Linked DNA regions of Homo sapiens: region 1 is linked to region 2. The links are contacts of gene promoters, found by promoter capture Hi-C in human tissues and cell types (Jung and others, 2019). All regions are on one chromosome and are shown on one strand. Each heading gives the region's core, a stretch centred on a gene start or on the middle of the fragment in contact. The rest is flanking DNA. Distances are from core to core; before and after follow the strand shown. Region 1 overlaps ZNF507 (zinc finger protein 507). Region 2 holds the start of CEBPG (CCAAT enhancer binding protein gamma).

Region 1 (2,943 bases), core at 214-2,713, 1.0 Mb after region 2:
CTCATTACTGCTGCCTGTGAGCATGTTTCTTAACAAAATGTAGGGAATCAGAAATGCATAGGATATGGCATGAACTCTGAGAAACCAAGCCCAAACTCTGACCATAAGTGCACCAGGCAACGAAACTGAATGAAGCAGACATGAAATGAGCCAGAGAAACTCCTGTGATCCTTGAATTAAGTCAGACATTATAAAGGCTACGCTACCAGCTCCGCTTAAAGCACACAGTATAGGACAACGAGGAGAAAGTCCTAGAAACATCCTGGAATAGAACATGTTAATCCGTAATGCTCTGCGACCAGAAATCCCATGAAGGCAAAGGATGGTGAGTATTTAAAGAAAGTTAAAAGGAGAGCCATGACATTAGAAAATAAGACTTATGAGGAAAAACTGATAATAAGTACAAAGAGGGAGATATGACAAAACTGTATCTAAGGCATAACCACACCAAACCCAGTGACAAAGTGGAGTGTGAATAAATTTGGAAAATAACAGACTGAGAGTTCTCTGATGTTACACAAAGAGGATGCTCACGGGATGTTGCCCGTTGGTAGGAAGACCCTAGGACAACTGCAATGAATCCTATGAATCTGTGAATATTTTAAGAACACAAGAAAACATCCCTGAGACACTGACAGCTATCAAAATGAATCTTTAAGCTGCAAGACTGATCTAATAAAGCAGATGTAAAACCTTCAACAGAACTAGAATCGCTAACCTTTTTCCTAAGTATTTGAGGGTTTACTTGCTTATTGTTTGTCTACAAGTTCCATGACAGCAAAGATGACGTCTGTTTTGTTATGACTGTAGTCCAAGAATCTAGCACGGCCCCTGAAGCATAATATTTGCTCAATAAATATTTCTCCATGAATGAAAGAACAATCTAATTCTGGACCCGGAGAAATGTTATTTTCTTCTTACTTAAATCACATGAATCTGGCACGGTATGTCTAAATTCAAGGATACCAAAAATATAAAGGCAAAGCTTTCTCCTCCTATCAGGTAAACTAGTGTTCCCTGTTTCCATCACATTCTCCTAAACATTTCCCAGTATAAATCACGAATGTAAATATACTCAGTCCCACCTATTAAATAGACTGATTGGACATGGTGTAACCATGTAATCCCAGCACTTTGGGAGGCCAAGGTGGGCGGACACTTGAGGCCAGGAGTTCAAGACCTGGCGAAACCCCGTCTCTAATTAGCTAATCATGGCACATGCCTGTGGTCCCAGCTACTTGGGAGGCTGAGGCATGAGAATCACTTGAACCCGGGAGGCGGAGGTTGCCGTGAGGTGAGATCACTCCACTGCACTCCAGCCTGGGTGATGACAGAGCGAGACTCTGTCAAAGAAAAAAAGGAAGGAAGGAAGGAAGGAAGGAGGGAGGGAGGGAGGGAGGGGAGGGAAAGGAAAGGAAGGAAAGGAAGGAAGGAAAGGAAGAAAGGAAAGGAAGAAAGGAAAGGAAGGAAGGAAACGAAGGAAGGAAAGGAAGGAAGGAGGGAGGGAGAGAGGGAGGGAGGGAAGAAAAGGAAAGGAAGGAAAGGAAAGGAAGGAAAGGAAGAAAGGAAAGGAAGGAAGGAAAGGAAGGAAAGGAAGGAAGGAAAGGAAGGAAGGAAGAAAAGAAGGAAGGAAGGAAAGAAGGAAGGAAGGAAGACACTGAGGAGGACTGAGGCAAGGTCAAACACCTTCCACAGAGTTTTAAGACTCTGCAAACAGATGTACTTTCTGAAGAGTGATTATAAGTAAGTCTGCTGGTTTGCAAATTAAGCACATATTAAATATTCGAAACCATACACAGATCACCACACTTTGGGATTAAACAATGACCTTTTATGGCACAATCTGTCAGGTTTTCATTGAGATTAATACAATAACTTTCCCACACTCACTTGTATCATATCTACAGAATCTGGGGAGAGAGTTAAACCTGCTAAGTTTTGACAAGGGGGTGAAAGTTCATGCGCATTGCCTAGCACTATCACTGAGAATGCCTATATTTTCTGAAATATATATCTGAATTTGCTTTTGGGAAAAATCAAGTAATGAAATTAAATGACTTATTCTACACATACTAGCTTAATTTTGAAAAATGGACTCTTTCATAGAAAATTTTATTGCCTTTAAGTTTTAAGGATCTTTTGCTGAATACTGAGTACCTTACTGCCAAATTACTGAAATGAACTCTAAGGCATTGAAAATTGCTATGAAATTTATACCCATATGAAATGAAAACATAAAATTGACAGATAAAGACAATTTCCTATGTATCAACTAGACAAAATGCCTACTGTCCTAAGATTCAAGCTTAAAGTTCACATCTTAACAAATCAAACAAGACATAATACCAGCCAGGTGCAGTGGCTCACGCCTGCAATCCCAGCACTTTGGGAGGCTGATGTGGGAGGATCCCTTGAGGCCAGGAGTTCGAGGCTGCAGTGAGCTGTGATCATACCACTGCACTCCAGCCTGGGCAATACAGCAAGACACTGACTCAAAAAATAAATAAGTAAATATATAAAACAACAAAATATAAAACCAATTAGTGAAAATTTCTTACTTCTTAACCTGTGTTTCAGTAAGTGCTATACATTTTTATTTCATTTTATTTCTTTAATATAAAATATTTTAATACAAACATTAAAATTCTAGAATCATAACACTTACCTGTACGGCTTATCAGAGTTATGGATTCGCCTGTGGTTTCTGACACCAACATATGTTGTACTTGTATAATCACACACATCACATCTATATTGTTTCTGGACTGAAGACTTATTCCCTAGACAAGGTATTTCAGAGTTTTAGTAGCAGGCTTTGACAAGATTCAAATGACAGCATTTACATTCCATTGTAAATGAAAATTTATACCACACAGTTGTATTAATATTTCAATCACGGCTTTCTCACTGTTTTAACAAGTCTGAAGTGGTTTTATAGGTTTT
Region 2 (3,178 bases), core at 425-2,924:
TACCATTACTGTGACCAAGTGAGGCAATCTTAGACCACGAGACCAAATTCAGCCCCACGAGGTCCTATTTGTCTTTACCAGGGGCTCAGCACATAGTGTTTAATTTCCCAGGGATGAAACCATCTCTCCAAGATCAGACAGCCTTGCAGACAGACATGATGTGATCTTGAGAATTTAAAGGATATTCTCAATGAAGTTTTGTTTCCATCTACTTTTTTTAAAAGCAGGTATTAAAAATAACTGAACCAGCCAAGTGTGCCCACCAAAAGCAGGAATCAAGAAGCTGAAATATGCTTCAGCTCCCTTGTACCCTGTAATTATTTAGCCTTGTTTACAGCAACTTTTTCCAGAAGCAGAATCGACCTTATGAACAGCTTATCCCAAATACTACTCAAGGGCTAACAGATGACCACATCTTAAATATCAAGAGCTTCTAGGTGTAGAATGTCTTCGTAAAGCAAGCCCTTATAGGATTTTCTTTTAAAATTTTCTCTGGGAGTCACATTTCTTTGGGAGAAGTCTGCCTTAAGTGACAACCTATTCATATAAGCAGTCAATTCTGACACAACTACCAATTTTGGTGTCACCCATCAACATTGAGACCTTTCTAAATCTTATACATTTCAGGATGCCAGATTACAGTATAAACTTCAAACAAGAGGAAAACCCAACACGTAAACCTGCGGAAGAGAAGCAACACACCAGCTGCCCTGGAAAACACTCTCCTCCCCCCGCGACACATGCATTTCCATCCTTCGCATCTGGTCACCTCCGCTGGCTGTCGGCCCTGCTCCGCTCCCTCCAACTATGCCTGCGAAGTGCTTCATTTCTTCTCTATTCGACCCGTAGGTGTTGCGTGTTCTTCTAAACTACGTTCAACAGTAAAGTGCAGGACATTCCAACAGCTCCACAAAGAAGCAAAATATTATCTCTGCAAAGTCATGCATTTAAAAACCAGTTGCTTTCCCTATTTTATTGATCAGTCTTTGAACTTCTGAACAGATTTTCGATCACCGCAAGCTGAGCCCTTCTAGAAGATCAGGATTCTAAAGCTCGACTCGGTCCACCTTCTGCTATTCTGGGAACACCCTTCATCCCCAGGGGCCAATGCGAGCCTGGCGGGTCACAGCGCCCGTTTCACCGAGAGGGGGCCGGGCTCCGCAGGGGGCATTCCCCGGCCGTTCGCGCGCTCCCGGCCCGCCGCGAGGGGCGCCCCGGGCAGCGCGGGGGTCGACGGGCGGCGCCGCAGCGCTGGGCCGCGGCCAGGAATGAGCTCAGCGTCCCCGCCGGGTGTTGCCGGCAGGTTGCATCAGACGCCGCGCGGCGCCGCCGCCCGCGCCTCCAGCCTCGCGTGGCCTTCCCGGGCCAGCGGGCCGTCTGGGGCCGGGGCTGGGTTTCCCCGAGCCGGGCCCGCACCCAGTCGAGCGGCCGGCGTCGCCGCGGCCTCCTCCTCCCCGTTCTCAGGGCGCCCGCCGCAGCCTCCTTACCTGCTCCTCTAGCCCGCCTGCCCCCAGGCGGCCTCCACTCCGAGCGGCCCCGCGCGGTGCGGCCCGAGCCGACCCAGGCCTCACAGCCCGCGAGTCAGCGAGGAGGAGCGACGGTTACGAAACCGGCAGCCTCCGCCCGTTCCGCAGCCGCGGCCACCGGCTTCCCCTGCTCGCCGGGGCCGCGCGCGCCGCCGCCGCCATCCCGGCCAATGGGAGCGCCGGCCTGCCGGAGGCACCGCCTTCTCTCGCGACGGGCAGCCCAGTCGACCAATCGTGGGCAGGCTGGCGGCGGGAGGCGGGCCCACGGTGGGGGAGTGGGTTCCGCGCGGCTGGCTCGGCGGGTGTGGCGGGAGCAGGGAGCTGCTTGCTGCGGCGTCCGCGGTCCCTAGGCAGCTCGCCCGGGCTGGCGGCGGCCTAGTGCTGTGGACGACTCAAGTTCGAGTCGGAGGCTGAAAAGCCGTCACCTTGTGGAGGCCAGACGTGCCTTTGGAAGCATTTTCTGAGGTGGTTTTGTGAACCACCGGCGACTGTTTTGGTTTCGCCGCGTCCCTTGGAAGCCCCCGCGGCGTCCCTCACAGAGTTTCTGCGAACGGAACGCCCCGCAGGCGGGCGGGCTTTGTCGCCGCAAAAAGAGTGGAGGCTGACGCGGTGGCTCCCGCCTATAATCTCAGCGCCGAGGGAGGCCGAGGCGGGAGAATGGCTTGAGCCCAGGCGTTGGAGAACCAGCCTGGACAACATAGCGAGACCCCATCTCAGTTACTAATTTTTAAAAAATCGAATGAACCCAGATGTTTCACACATAGGATTAGCATTGATGTCACATGGGTGAAATCCATGTGCTGCAGGCTGTGCTTTGTTGTTAGGGTGAGATGAAGTGAATTTCTTAAAATGATTCTCTTTGGGTGCCTTCCAGGTGCATGGGTGCGAGGTGATCTCTGAAAATAAGCAGCGATCCAGTGTGACTTAAAACTCGCCAGGAGAACCCGAAAGCGTTTTTTTTTTTTTTTTTTTTGAGACGGAGTCTCGCTCTGTCGCCCAGGCTGGAGTGCAGTGGCGCAATCTCGGCTCACTGCAAGCTCCGCCTCCCGGGTTCACGCCATTCTCCTGCCTCAGCCTCCCAAGTAGCTGGGACTACAGGCGCCCGCCACTACGCCCGGCTAATTTTTTGTATTTTTTTAGTAGAGACGGGGTTTCACCGTTTTAGCCGGGATGGTCTCGATCTTCTGACCTCGTGATCCGCCCGCCTCGGCCTCCCAAAGTGCTGGGATTACAGGCGTGAGCCACCGCGCCTGGCCCCGAAAGCGTTTTAACACCAGGAAGCAGCAGCTCGCTGGGCGGAGGGCAGAACTCGCCTGATAGGTTTAATTGCTTCCTCTTTAGCAACGCGTATCGTTCAAACAATTGAGGCTTTGAAAGAGGAAATGTTTCTTCAGCGCCCATGGAACCGGCTCGCCCCGTAAGATTGTTTCGAGGAATCAGTAAGATGATAAAGCAATAAATAAAAATTAAAAGGGGTCACAACGGTGAACAATGGGCTGGGCGCGGTGGCTCAGGTCTGTAATCCCAGCACTCTGCGAGGCCGAGGCAGGCTGATCACTTCAGGTCGGGAATTAGAGACCAGCCTGGGCAACATGGAAAAACCCCATCTCTACCAAAAATACAGAAGATTAGCCGGGTGTGGTGGCGCTGTG

Evidence for each region. Contacts are between HindIII fragments. The study calls those that stand out against the background at their distance.
Region 1: a fragment that was not itself captured here is called in contact with the fragment with the promoter of CEBPG in region 2 in 1 of the 25 tissues and cell types used here (aorta).

The regions. Positions count from the first base shown.
Region 1 is chr19:32,360,341-32,363,283 of GRCh38, reverse strand. It overlaps ZNF507 (zinc finger protein 507), which reads right to left. Exons shown (of 7, transcript NM_001136156.2): 5 at 2,666-2,780. Among named protein-coding and RNA genes, the nearest start is that of ZNF507, 16 kb to the right of the region's middle. The HindIII fragment of the contact is 4,607 bases long and covers 1-2,943 here.
Region 2 is chr19:33,372,205-33,375,382 of GRCh38, reverse strand. It overlaps CEBPG (CCAAT enhancer binding protein gamma), which reads right to left and starts at 1,674. Exons shown (of 2, transcript NM_001806.4): 1 at 1,488-1,674. RefSeq lists a silencer at 1,078-1,887. The HindIII fragment of the contact is 10,998 bases long and covers 1-3,178 here.